2 separate regions of the Homo sapiens genome follow, and region 2 is linked to region 1. The links are contacts of gene promoters, found by promoter capture Hi-C in blood cells and fetal thymus (Javierre and others, 2016). All regions are on one chromosome and are shown on one strand. Each heading gives the region's core, a stretch centred on a gene start or on the middle of the fragment in contact. The rest is flanking DNA. Distances are from core to core; before and after follow the strand shown. Region 1 holds the start of IMMP2L (inner mitochondrial membrane peptidase subunit 2). Region 2 overlaps SAMTOR (S-adenosylmethionine sensor upstream of mTORC1).

Evidence for each region. The method cuts DNA at HindIII sites, captures the fragments that hold promoters and counts their contacts. A CHiCAGO score of 5 or more calls a contact.
Region 2: a contact is called between a fragment that was not itself captured here and the fragment with the promoter of IMMP2L in region 1, in 1 of 17 cell types (monocytes). The highest score is 7.6, in monocytes.

Annotation. Positions count from the first base shown.
Region 1 is chr7:111,560,766-111,565,906 of GRCh38, reverse strand. IMMP2L (inner mitochondrial membrane peptidase subunit 2) reads left to right here and starts at 3,415. Exons shown (of 6, transcript NM_032549.4): 1 at 3,415-4,056. RefSeq lists a silencer at 3,254-3,883. The HindIII fragment of the contact is 1,654 bases long and covers 2,921-4,574 here.
Region 2 is chr7:112,925,611-112,931,352 of GRCh38, reverse strand. All of the region lies in intron 1 of SAMTOR (S-adenosylmethionine sensor upstream of mTORC1), which reads left to right. Among named protein-coding and RNA genes, the nearest start is that of SAMTOR, 11 kb to the left of the region's middle. The HindIII fragment of the contact is 1,793 bases long and covers 2,556-4,348 here.

The DNA.
Region 1 (5,141 bases), core at 2,166-4,665:
TAAGCAAACACATGTCTAACATTTTTCTATCTTAAATTTTAATACAGTAAATATGGACATATATAACCCACATAAACAACAGCTCTTTAAAGTTCTCAATCATTTTTAAGAATGTAAAGAGAACTTGAGATCAAAAAGTAGTTTGAGAACTGCTACTCTATGATACCTTCTATTATTTGCTTACCAATGGTAAGTATGTATAGATAGGAATATATTTTAATATCTATATTTGTGGAATCTGTAAACTTAATTATTTTAACTTTGTTTAAATATCTCTTTGACCATTAGATTTGATGCCTAACTATAGTTTAAATTTGTACCTTAGTTAGGACTTTATGATTCATTTTCCCCTGATGGTATTAACAACAAATAGAGGTCTGCTTTAATATATAAGGAGACAAGGCAAATATATTTGAACTAGATACATAAAGCCAAATATTCAGCTTAGAATTTAATTGATAAATTAGAATAAAATAGGATGCTCTAACTGCTGCTTCTTTTTCTCATAAACTTTTTTCTCCCAAAGATCAGTTTCAGGTTCAGAGCAAAATTGAGCAGGAAGTATAGGGTTCCTATATATTCCTGTACCCCACATCTGCACAGCCTCCCTGACTATGAATATCCTGTACCAGAGCAGTATATTTGTTACAATTGATGAACTTACATTGACATCATTATCACCCAAAGTTGAGATTTTATATTAAGGCTCCCTCTTTGGGTTGTATATTTTATGGGTTTGGACAAATGTATAATGACATGCATCACCATTATCATATCATACAGAATAGTTTCACTGCCCTAAAAATCTGTGCTTCATATCCCCCTCCTCTGTGACCTCTGGCAATCACTGATCTTTTTACTGTCTCCATATGTGATGGTTAATACTGAGTGTCAGCTTGAATGTATTGAAGGATAGAAAGTATTGATCCTGGGTGTGTCTATGAGGGTGTTGCCAAGGAGATTAACATTTGAGTCAGTGGGCTGGGAAAGGCAGACCCACCTTTAATTGGGTGGGCACCATCTAATAAGCTGCCAGTGAATATAAAGCAGGCAGAAAAACATGAAAAGGAGAGACTGGCCTAGTCTCTCAGCCTACAGCTTTCTCCTGTGCTGGACGCTTACTGCCCTCAAACATCGGATTCAAAGTTCTTCAATTTTGAGACTCGGACTGGCTCTCTTGCTCCTCAAGCTTGCAGACAGCCTATTGTGGGACTTTGTCATCATGTAAGTTAATACTTAATAAACTCCTCTTTATATTTATATGTCTATCCTATTGGTTCTGTCCCTCTAGGAAACCCTGACTAATATACCATAGTTCTGCCCTTTCCAGATATTAGCTTCTTTTTAAGTACACTTGATGAATCTTAGTGATAAAATCAGGCCAGACCTAGCAACTCTTTTTGTATGTTTATTGACTTCCCAATACAATAAAGGCCATAAACACCTGTCTTTGTTGTTTATTCACCTACATTCCATCCCAGACTGTCAGTTCCTAGTGACCAGGAGCTCCATTCAATTTGGGGTCATGGTACCAAATAGTTCTTGACTGCTATTTGATGAGGGTGGTCCTGTCACCTAAGTGCTCTTGAAATTAAGTCCTTAAGCACTGGCCGAAAAGAGCTTACTTTGCAGTAATTATTTCAGTGACAAGTAAGAAAAACTGGGACATATCCCCTTCACAGGAGAGCAATTTTGCTCTCTTTAGGAAACTCTTGGAATTTTAGTTATCAGGCTATTTAAGACCCTGAGTAGATTCTTAAACCTTTAGAATAAATTTTGAACCAAGAGTGCCAGAATGTCTGTTATTTACATTAGTATTAAGTGATCTGAAAGTGCACAGAGTAGTTTGGCAGTATCTAGAGGGAGAATAGAGACAGAAATAATGAAGATACAACTGGAGGAGTAAGAAAAGGAGAAAAAAAGTATTTTATGTCTGTTCAGTATTTCTAGGTGCCACTGCTGCTAAATGCCTGGGCTTCAGCCTAGGTTGGGTTGCTCCTAGCAAAGAAAACCAGTCCCTGAGACAACGAGTATTGCCAGGGAAGACAGGCTTTAATGCAGGTGATGCTGGCAGGGAGACCAGTCTCAAACATGTCTTAGGGAGACTAAAGTTAGGGCTTTCTATAGCAGGGAATTATGGAGGGGTAAGGAAGAGGAGTTTGTGAACAGGCAGCAGATGCACCTCATTGTCCAGATGTAGTGTTCTGGAAAGTTGCATTTCCTTGACACTATCTGGGAGGTCTGACAGTTTATCTGCTGAGAAAGGAACTCAGGTAAAATGCACGCAAGTTTCTCAAGTTTCACTTCGAAGGGAAAATTTGGCCGGTTTCGGTCTTCCCTTTCTATTTATCAATTCCTCAATCATGCGGAATCTGGTAGTTGATCTTTCTGGCTGCTTCACGTGAAGGAAGGGCATCTTGGGATGATATGGAATGAAAATATCGCACCTGTAATTGCAAGTACTTACGAGTACCTGGTTGGCATCCAGCTTGTTGGAGCACCATGATTTGGGTACTTTCATCAACATTTTAAACCACATTGAATTAGGATAATTAATAACATGGATAAGAAGGTTTCTTTGTAGGTTGTAATAACCCAGTTAAGAGTTTGTACCATTCGGCCGGGCGCAGTGGCTCACGCCTGTAATCCTAGCACTTTGGGAGGCCTAGGTGAGCGGATCACGAGGTCAGGAGATGGAGACCATCTTTGCTAACACGGTGAAATCCCATCTCTACTAAAAATACAAGAAGATTAGCCGGGCATGGTGGCGGGGGCCTGTAGTCCCGGCTACTAGGGAGGCTGAGGCAGGAGAATGGCGTGAACCCGGGAGGCGGAGATTGCAGTGTCGCTCTGGCGACAGAGCGAGACTCCGTCTCAGGAAAAAAAAAAAAAGAGTTTGTACCATTTGAGGGCAAAAGCTTCAGTATGAAATTCCCGTTTCTCTCAAGTAAACCGCCTGTCCTGTGTTACTCACTTTGTTTTACCTGGAGGCAGCAAAACTGAATAGTTTTCCTGAGTGCTCATGAGTAGGAAAAAATGAAATGAAGAGTTGCCCAGAGATCGCTAGTGAGGTGCTTTGCCACTACTGCCCTGTACTTAAGTAACTGTGAGGGTTCTCTGTTTCCTGGCTTCTAAAACAAGAGGAAGAGCTGAAGACACAGTTTCATAGACTTTTCGGCTCTTTATTGTAGTCTCCCCCATTAGTACGTTGCTGAGCTTAGGGCAAGTGCTCAATAATAGCTTGCTGAATTAGTGTTGTGTTTGATCCTTTCAGATCCACGCCGCATTTTGAGCCCGACCTGGGCGGGCGGTCCAGAGACCAGTTTTCCGCCGGGGGCGGAGCTTCGGGCGGCCAGCGCGCGACGGGGCAGCGGGGCGGAGCTTGCCGCCGGCGGAGGGCGGGGTCTGCGCGGGGACTTCCCCCGGGCTGAGCTGCGCAGCGGGTGCGGAGGGCGGGCGCCCGGCGTCCGGCGGCGGGTGGGGGGCTGTGAGGCTGGCAGGGGTCGGCGGGCGCGTAGCCGCCGACCCTTGGTGGTCTCTTGGGCTGGGGACCCTTCCCTGGGAGTCGGCCCCGGCCCCGGCGGGGCGGGCGTTGCCGGGAGGCGGAGGGGTGCGCGGCCGCGAGTCCTGCGTGATCGCGAGCATGTGTGCGTGCGCGTGTTTATCTGAGGCGCGTGCGGCGGCCACCCCAGCCTAGTCCTCTTCTTGGTGCCACTGGCTAACTAGGTTGAGAAACCGGCGCCACAGGCGGCACACCTGGCCCGGAGCTGGCCCGCTCCTCCCCGCCGAGCCGGCGCCCCAACAACGCGCCCTCTCCCAGTCCTCACAAAGGGGCCTAGTCCGGCCCCCGGCTCTGGCCGTGAGGGAGCGCTGTGGGGGCGCGCTGCCTTCTGCCTGGAAGTGTTGGGCAGGTGGTGGGAGAGCGTCAGGCTTGAACAACATGATTTTAAAGCACGTGTCTGTCTGTCGTTTTTTACTTTTAGGGTTTTGGCCAAATTGGGCGAGGGCACAAAATAACCACTTACCCCTTCTCACCGAGGAAGAGCGGGAGAAAGGGTAAGTAAGGAATGGTCAGGGGTGGAAGGACCTAGGACTTTATCCTGAGAGCGAGCGAGAGAGAGAAGGGCTAGATGTCCAGAACTGCTCGTGGGGAACTTGGGCCCAGATTCTACCTTTTCATCGGGAACTGGAGGACCCACCTTCAAAGTCACAGGCTCCAGGCCCCGGACTGTTTTCAGCCTCACACAGTCTATAGAGTTTAACAGCTTGGGCATGTGGATCCCTTTTAGCCCCTTGACCCGACAGAAAACTGCACTTCCCCTTTACCTGTTTTTACCTTGGAACATTGGTCCTCTCTAGTTGTCTGTCTCCGGCCCCTATCTTATTAGCCAGCTTTGACTAATCCCTGAGACCATAGCACTAAAGAATCCAGGTCCTGTTTGATAATGAACAGTAACCCCCCTAGGGATGTTTACATTTTAAAAGGGTACTCCTGAAAAAATCCTTTAGGACCCCAAAGCATAAAGTTAGTAACAAGATTACAAGTGTTGAAGTTCTTTGGGATCTCTCAAGCTTACAGAAGAAGATGTTTTGAGGGGAGAGAGATGACCAGGCTGGGCCTTTTTCTCTGGGCTTTCACTCTTGGTACCTCCTGGCAAGCATTCCATTCACTTTTGAAAAGTTGCCAAAAAGGACACTGAAGTTCTCTGAGGCTTACTGTGATTTTCAGTGTGGTCTATTTCATTGGTTCTTCTGTGGGACTTTTCTATCACTTCTTTAATACACTGCTTCCCTCTCCCCTGTATGGTGAAATGAAACACAGCTCCTCTCACAAGGTTGGGAGCTCATTATGCATCCTATATGTCACATATAAATAACCGTTTTAAATTAGTTGAAATTCAGATTAGCTACAAGCAGGAATGTAGTAAAACTGCATTCTTGGATTCTTACACAGGAAAAGTAGAATTGCCCTCTGTGATAGGCTGCCTATTCTGATACTGGCTGCCTGTGTCCTGAACGTGCCTATTTGTTTGTGCTCAAGTGATAGGTGACCACATAATTTATGGAAAACAGGAAGTGATTGTTTATTGATAATGGGTTCCTTCATTGATTCAATAGCTAATTCTCTCTTACCATGTGCT
Region 2 (5,742 bases), core at 2,203-4,702, 1.4 Mb before region 1:
TTAAGTTTAATCCATGCATTGATTTGTTTTGTTGTGTTTTTTTTTTTGTTAATTAAATTGGACTCTTAAGGTTGTCCCAACCCCCTGCTCTCTATATTATTTTGCCAGGCTTTTAAGCTCACAACCTTGCTATACACCATTGGTTTTAAGCCATAGCTACACGTTGGATTCATCCGGGGAGTGTTAAACTAAATGACCAGTTGCCACTCCAGACCAGTTAAATGAAACTTCTGGGTGATTCCAATGTGCAGCCAGAATTGGCAGCCAGAGTTGAGAACCACTGCCAGAAATCTAACAAATAATGCAGTTGCAGAGACTAAATAACTGCATTTGACTGACAAAAGACCATTTGTTTGTGGTTAGTAGAGTCTGTGTACTTTCCTCTGTTGCAAAGCTTTGCTCATATCCATGAAAGTTCATGAATTAAAAACTTATGAAGAGAAGCAAAGTTTGTGGTTAGGAGCATGACTTTAGCTTTTGACTACCAGGTTTGTTGTGTAACCTTGGAAAAGTTTACTTAATCGCTCTACTTCAGTTTCCTCATCTATAAAGTAAAATATCTGCCTCAATGGATTGGTATTATAATTAAATGAGTTAATATTTGAAAAGCACTTAAAACAACATTTGGCATATAGGAAACACACTAAGCTTGTAAAATACAGAAATTTAAAAATAACAGCTCTTTTATCTGTAGCTATACTGCTTCAATGCATTTAAGGACTATGACATTAAAGACTGGATGGCTCCTGGAATTTTTACCTAGACTGTTCTGTAGTCTTCTCAGTATTAAAATGACTTTTTCTTTTTCTTCTTTTTTTTTTTTTTGCCCCTTTTGCTGTTTGTGTTTCTAAGTTTTTATATGAAAAGTCCAACCTTTTTAGCATGTCAGAATATTGGTGGTGTTTTCTTCCCACATTAGAGAAATGACTATTCATAACATGTTGGCTATAAGATGCAGGTTTTCAAACTTTTTGTTTTCTGGTTACTTTTTGGCTCTTAATTACCAAACACCTTGGATGTTTTTTATCCCACTTTTAGATGTGTCACTGTATCAGGTGCTCAAGAGCTGAGAAGACTGGTCGTTGTATGGCTTAACTATGTAAGACAATCTGAATTCTGAACATTTTGTTTTAATGCCTTGAAATGGTAGCTGAACTTGTTTGCACTTAGTCATGAGTTTCTTTACTTACCTTGTGTTAGAGAAAATGACCATTAAAGGTACTTTGAACTTGAATTTGGTAGTCTTGTCATCTACAGATAAGGCATCTTAGGGCCCGTATTTGGCAATATGCCTAAGTCAGAATCAAATAAATTGTTCTGAATTTCTAAAAGTTTAAGACTTTTGATACTCATGTATTTTTTTGCTTTTTTAGAGAATTTGATGGCCCTCAAATTTAATGAAATATAATCTTAATTTTGTAACATATACCATGCTTGTGGCACATCATTTTTAAAAATTAAATTTATTGAGATATGATTCATGTACAGTAAATTGTGTCTTTTTAAAGTATATAATTCCGTAAGTTTTGACAATGCATGCATCTCTGTAAAACCATTACCACAATAAGGCGTAGAACATTTTCATCACTGCCAAAATTTTCTCATACTTCTTTGCAGTCGGTCTCTCTCTATACTCTCAGTCTCACATGTCTTTTCACTATAGATTCACCTCCATTTATTTTCGTTTCTTAGCTATTGTGAGTAATGCTGCAATGATTATAGGATTGCAGATATCTCTTTGACATACTGATTTCATTTCCTTTGGATAAATACCCATAGTGGGATTGCTGAATCATGTAGTAGTTTTATTTTTAATTTTTTTAGGAACCTCCATACTGTTTTGGCTGTACTAATTTACATACCCAACATAAGTATACAGGATTCACTTTTCTTCACATCCTCACCAATGCTTGTTATCTCTGGTCTTTTTGATAATAGCCATCCTAACAGATGGGAGGTAGTATCTTATTGTGGTTTTAATTTGCATTTTCCTGATGATTAGTTTTGTTGAGCACCCTTCTATATACCCATTGGCCATTTTTTGTGTTGTCTTTGGAAAAATATCTATTCAGGTCATTGCCCATTTTTTAGTCAGATTATTTGTTTTTTTGCTATTCAGTTTGAGGTTTTTTTTATATATCTTTTGGATATTAACCCCTTATCAGGTATATGGTTTGTAAATATATTTTTATCTTAAAATGGCATCACATATATACTTGCTAACTTATTTTCTGTGCTTTGTATGTTTTAAAAAGGAGAATTAGGATAGAGTTATTGAGAAAAAATATTATTTTTATACACATCAAGTATATAAAAATCAAGTGGTCCTGGCATGTAAAAATGCATGAACCTTAGCACCACCTATTCATTTTTTTCACATATAAGTAATTCTTTATCTATTTGGTGGTGTTACTGTTCATTTCTCCTTGAGCTAATAAATTTTTCGAAAAGATCTGTGTACTGCTATTAAAGAACTTAATGGATATGACTGGACTGTCAGCTGCAAGGTTTTCTTTTGACAATAACACAAAATGAAAAAGCCTTTTTAATAAGCTTAAAACAATGGTCTCTAGAAAAATGACATTGAAATTATTGCTTTTCTGACCTTGGAACTCTTACTTTGAAAACAGTAACTATTGTGAAAAATTTAAATTCTGCTTTTGAGTGACTGCTATTTATTGAAAGCCATCCTCTGTAGTTTGAATTTTATCTTAGCAACTAATTTAATTTGTTTATACTTTTCATGTTTATTTTTTGAGCATGATGAAAATTTAAATATTTTGTCCTCCACTGACTGAGCACCCTAATTAACTTCTCTAATTTATACAAATTGTAAATCAAAAGTAGTCTTTGCTTTTCCATTTATACTTTCTATTGGGAAAATCACACCTGGTTTTAATAGACAGTATGTATAAATGAATGACAAAGTACCGTAAGGATGGCAGATGAGGGAAGTGTAAGATGATAAAGTGGGAGGCAGATAAACCCTCTTGAAGAAAATATGAATTCAGTTACATTTTGAAGGAAAAAAAATGCTGTACCAGATGGCAGGAGAGAGGTTAATTCATAAAGAAAGAATAATATCAACTCTAAATAAATAATTTAGGGATTCCATTGGTTCACTTTAATTTGGAACTGTTTTAGAGCTGCGCTTCTGGATGTTATGTAGAGCAAAAATACTTTTAAACCCATTTCCTTGTACTTGTTTTTTTACAAAGGCAGTTGCATTGTAATAATGTCTTAATCACAAAGTTATTAAAAATGGAACTCTTTTTAAATTAATGAATGTGCTATTCTTTCCTAGTTGTCATTGTCCTTTTATTAGTAGCTCCTAATTTATTTTTTAGTTGTGACATAGTGTTTTTGAAGGTGAGTTTAGTCAATGCAATAGTTATGGTATTATCTTGATATAAGATTCAAAATAATTTGGTTCATTGATTATCATATTGAACTTGGTTTGGCAACTTTAAGTTGGCATCACTCATGTTTAAAATTACGAATTTGTTTTTTAAAATGGGTGTTTGAAAAATTTAAATGTTATGGGATAACTAAATAGAAGTCATGTTAATGTGAACTTTGTTCTAGAATTTTGTAAGACAATTTAAGCTGTAGAGCATATATTTTTGAATTGTGCTTTCTAAAAATAATTTGTGAATTCTCTGTAGTTGGTCAAAGTAAAACGTGTGTACCCATTGCAGATTTTGTTCTCCACGCCTCCCTTTCCCCTTGTACCTGTCTCTTTCTCTCTCTCTTTCTCTCTGTCTCACTTTTACTTTAAGACACATGTATTTTTTCTAGAATGCCTATAAGAAATTGGTAAGAAAATGGGTTATTAATTACAACACTTTTGAGTCATTCACAGATGCCATTATATTAAAATAAATCATAAGGCTAATTATTAATTCATTGAGAGTTCTGATAGAACTTGAAGACCTAAATGTTTCTTATACTGTGTTGACTAGACCTTTCATGCAAACTTCAAGAAGTTCTAGCTCCTGATTTACCTTTTAATAATGAAAAAATGTTGTCCTTTTAAATAGTATATCTTTTAATTATTAGTTGACCTAATAACTAAGTGATAAAAAAATCCTTAAAATTGAGTTTTAATATATTGTTTGTATATGCAGTTTGAGTTGGTAGAGGAGTTTTAAATATTATACTGGGCACTGGTGAACCCTAACTTTTTTTGGATTTTAGAACCTGAATCATAGATTACTTTGAAAAACTTTGCTCAAAATTTAAATACCATTATTTTAAATACTATAAAAACAAAAAATGGGCTATTATGAAAATACTTTTTCTCATTCCTTTTTAATAATTTCATTTATTTTTAAAATTACCTTAAGCTTTCAGAGGTATTTTGGGAAGTGGAATTTTCTCATAACTAAAGGCCAGCTATGTTTTTTGTTCAATTTTATAACCACCAGACTTTTAACAAAATGTATACACAGTAGTCAGAGTTTGAAACATTTTTATTTTATAAATATATGAAATAAAAGTTTTGGGTCCAGGATGCCTTGCATAGGATATAGGGAACCCGTCAGGTTCATATCTCTTTTATAGCATTTCCACATTTTACATGTCTTCTCCCCTTTTTTTGATACCAATGCCTGCTCATTAACTTTATTTTCTGTAGCATTTAATATGGAGTATTTTTAAAAGAAAATCTGTTGAAAGAAGGAAAAATATATACAGGTGCATCTTCTACTGTCAGTTATATATTTAAGTATACTTCACTTTATGAATCACATCAATTTTCAGTGTCAACACACTTTGTGAGAGTCTGCAGACTCCTCAATGTTAATGAAATCGTTAAATTGAAGTTGTTTGGTTAATCTGAGTTGCATTAGCCTACAAAGTTTGAATTCTTCCTTAGGACTTCAGTGAGGTAGATAGCCATAAAATTTCATTAGGTGGTATTTCAGAGAATTTTGTTGAGTATGAAAAACTAGAGGTCTTCTAAAAAGTTGTAGGGTAGTAGGTTTCTGTGTATTTTCAGTTCTTTGCATCTTATAGCTAGTAGAATAATTATAGAGTAAATTGAGTTTCAAAGTATATAGTGACATGGCAAGGACTCTAAGAATTTCTAACAGATGCCTGTGTTGCCTCACATAGCACACCCTTTGTCCTCACCCATGGTAGATAGACACTTTGAGCTCAGATTCACTAGCCCTTACATAGACCCACTTTAAATGAGTGCTGCTTTTTTGTGTTCTGCCTTTCTCCCACACTGCTGGAGCCCACTGAGATTGTCCCCTTATTCAGTGGCTAAGTGCAGACTAGCAGTGCAGATTGTTAATAATTCTCAGTTAATGGGGATAAGAACTTAGAGATAAATGCCGTGGCCTCCCATTCTTTAGGTGCACAATTCTGGACACATTCGGTATGCTTTTCAGTTTGCCAACAGCAGCAACCTCAGTAAAGCAACCTTGTATTAGTTTTTTCTCCTTCCCATCTTTCTCTCTACTTCCTTACTCCTGTTTCCTAGGATTCTCACCCAATTAAACTACATGGACCCAGGTCTTTGTCTTAAGTTGTACTTTTTTTTTTTTTTTTTTGAGACAGAGCTTGGCTCTTGTCACCCAGGTTGGAGTGCAATGGCATGATCTCAGCTCACTGCAACCTCCACCTCCCAGGTTCAAGCGATTCTCCTGCCTCAGCCTCCCGAATAGTTGGGATTACAGGCATGCGCCACCACACCTGGCTAATTTTGTATTTTGTAGTAGACGCAGGGTTTTACCA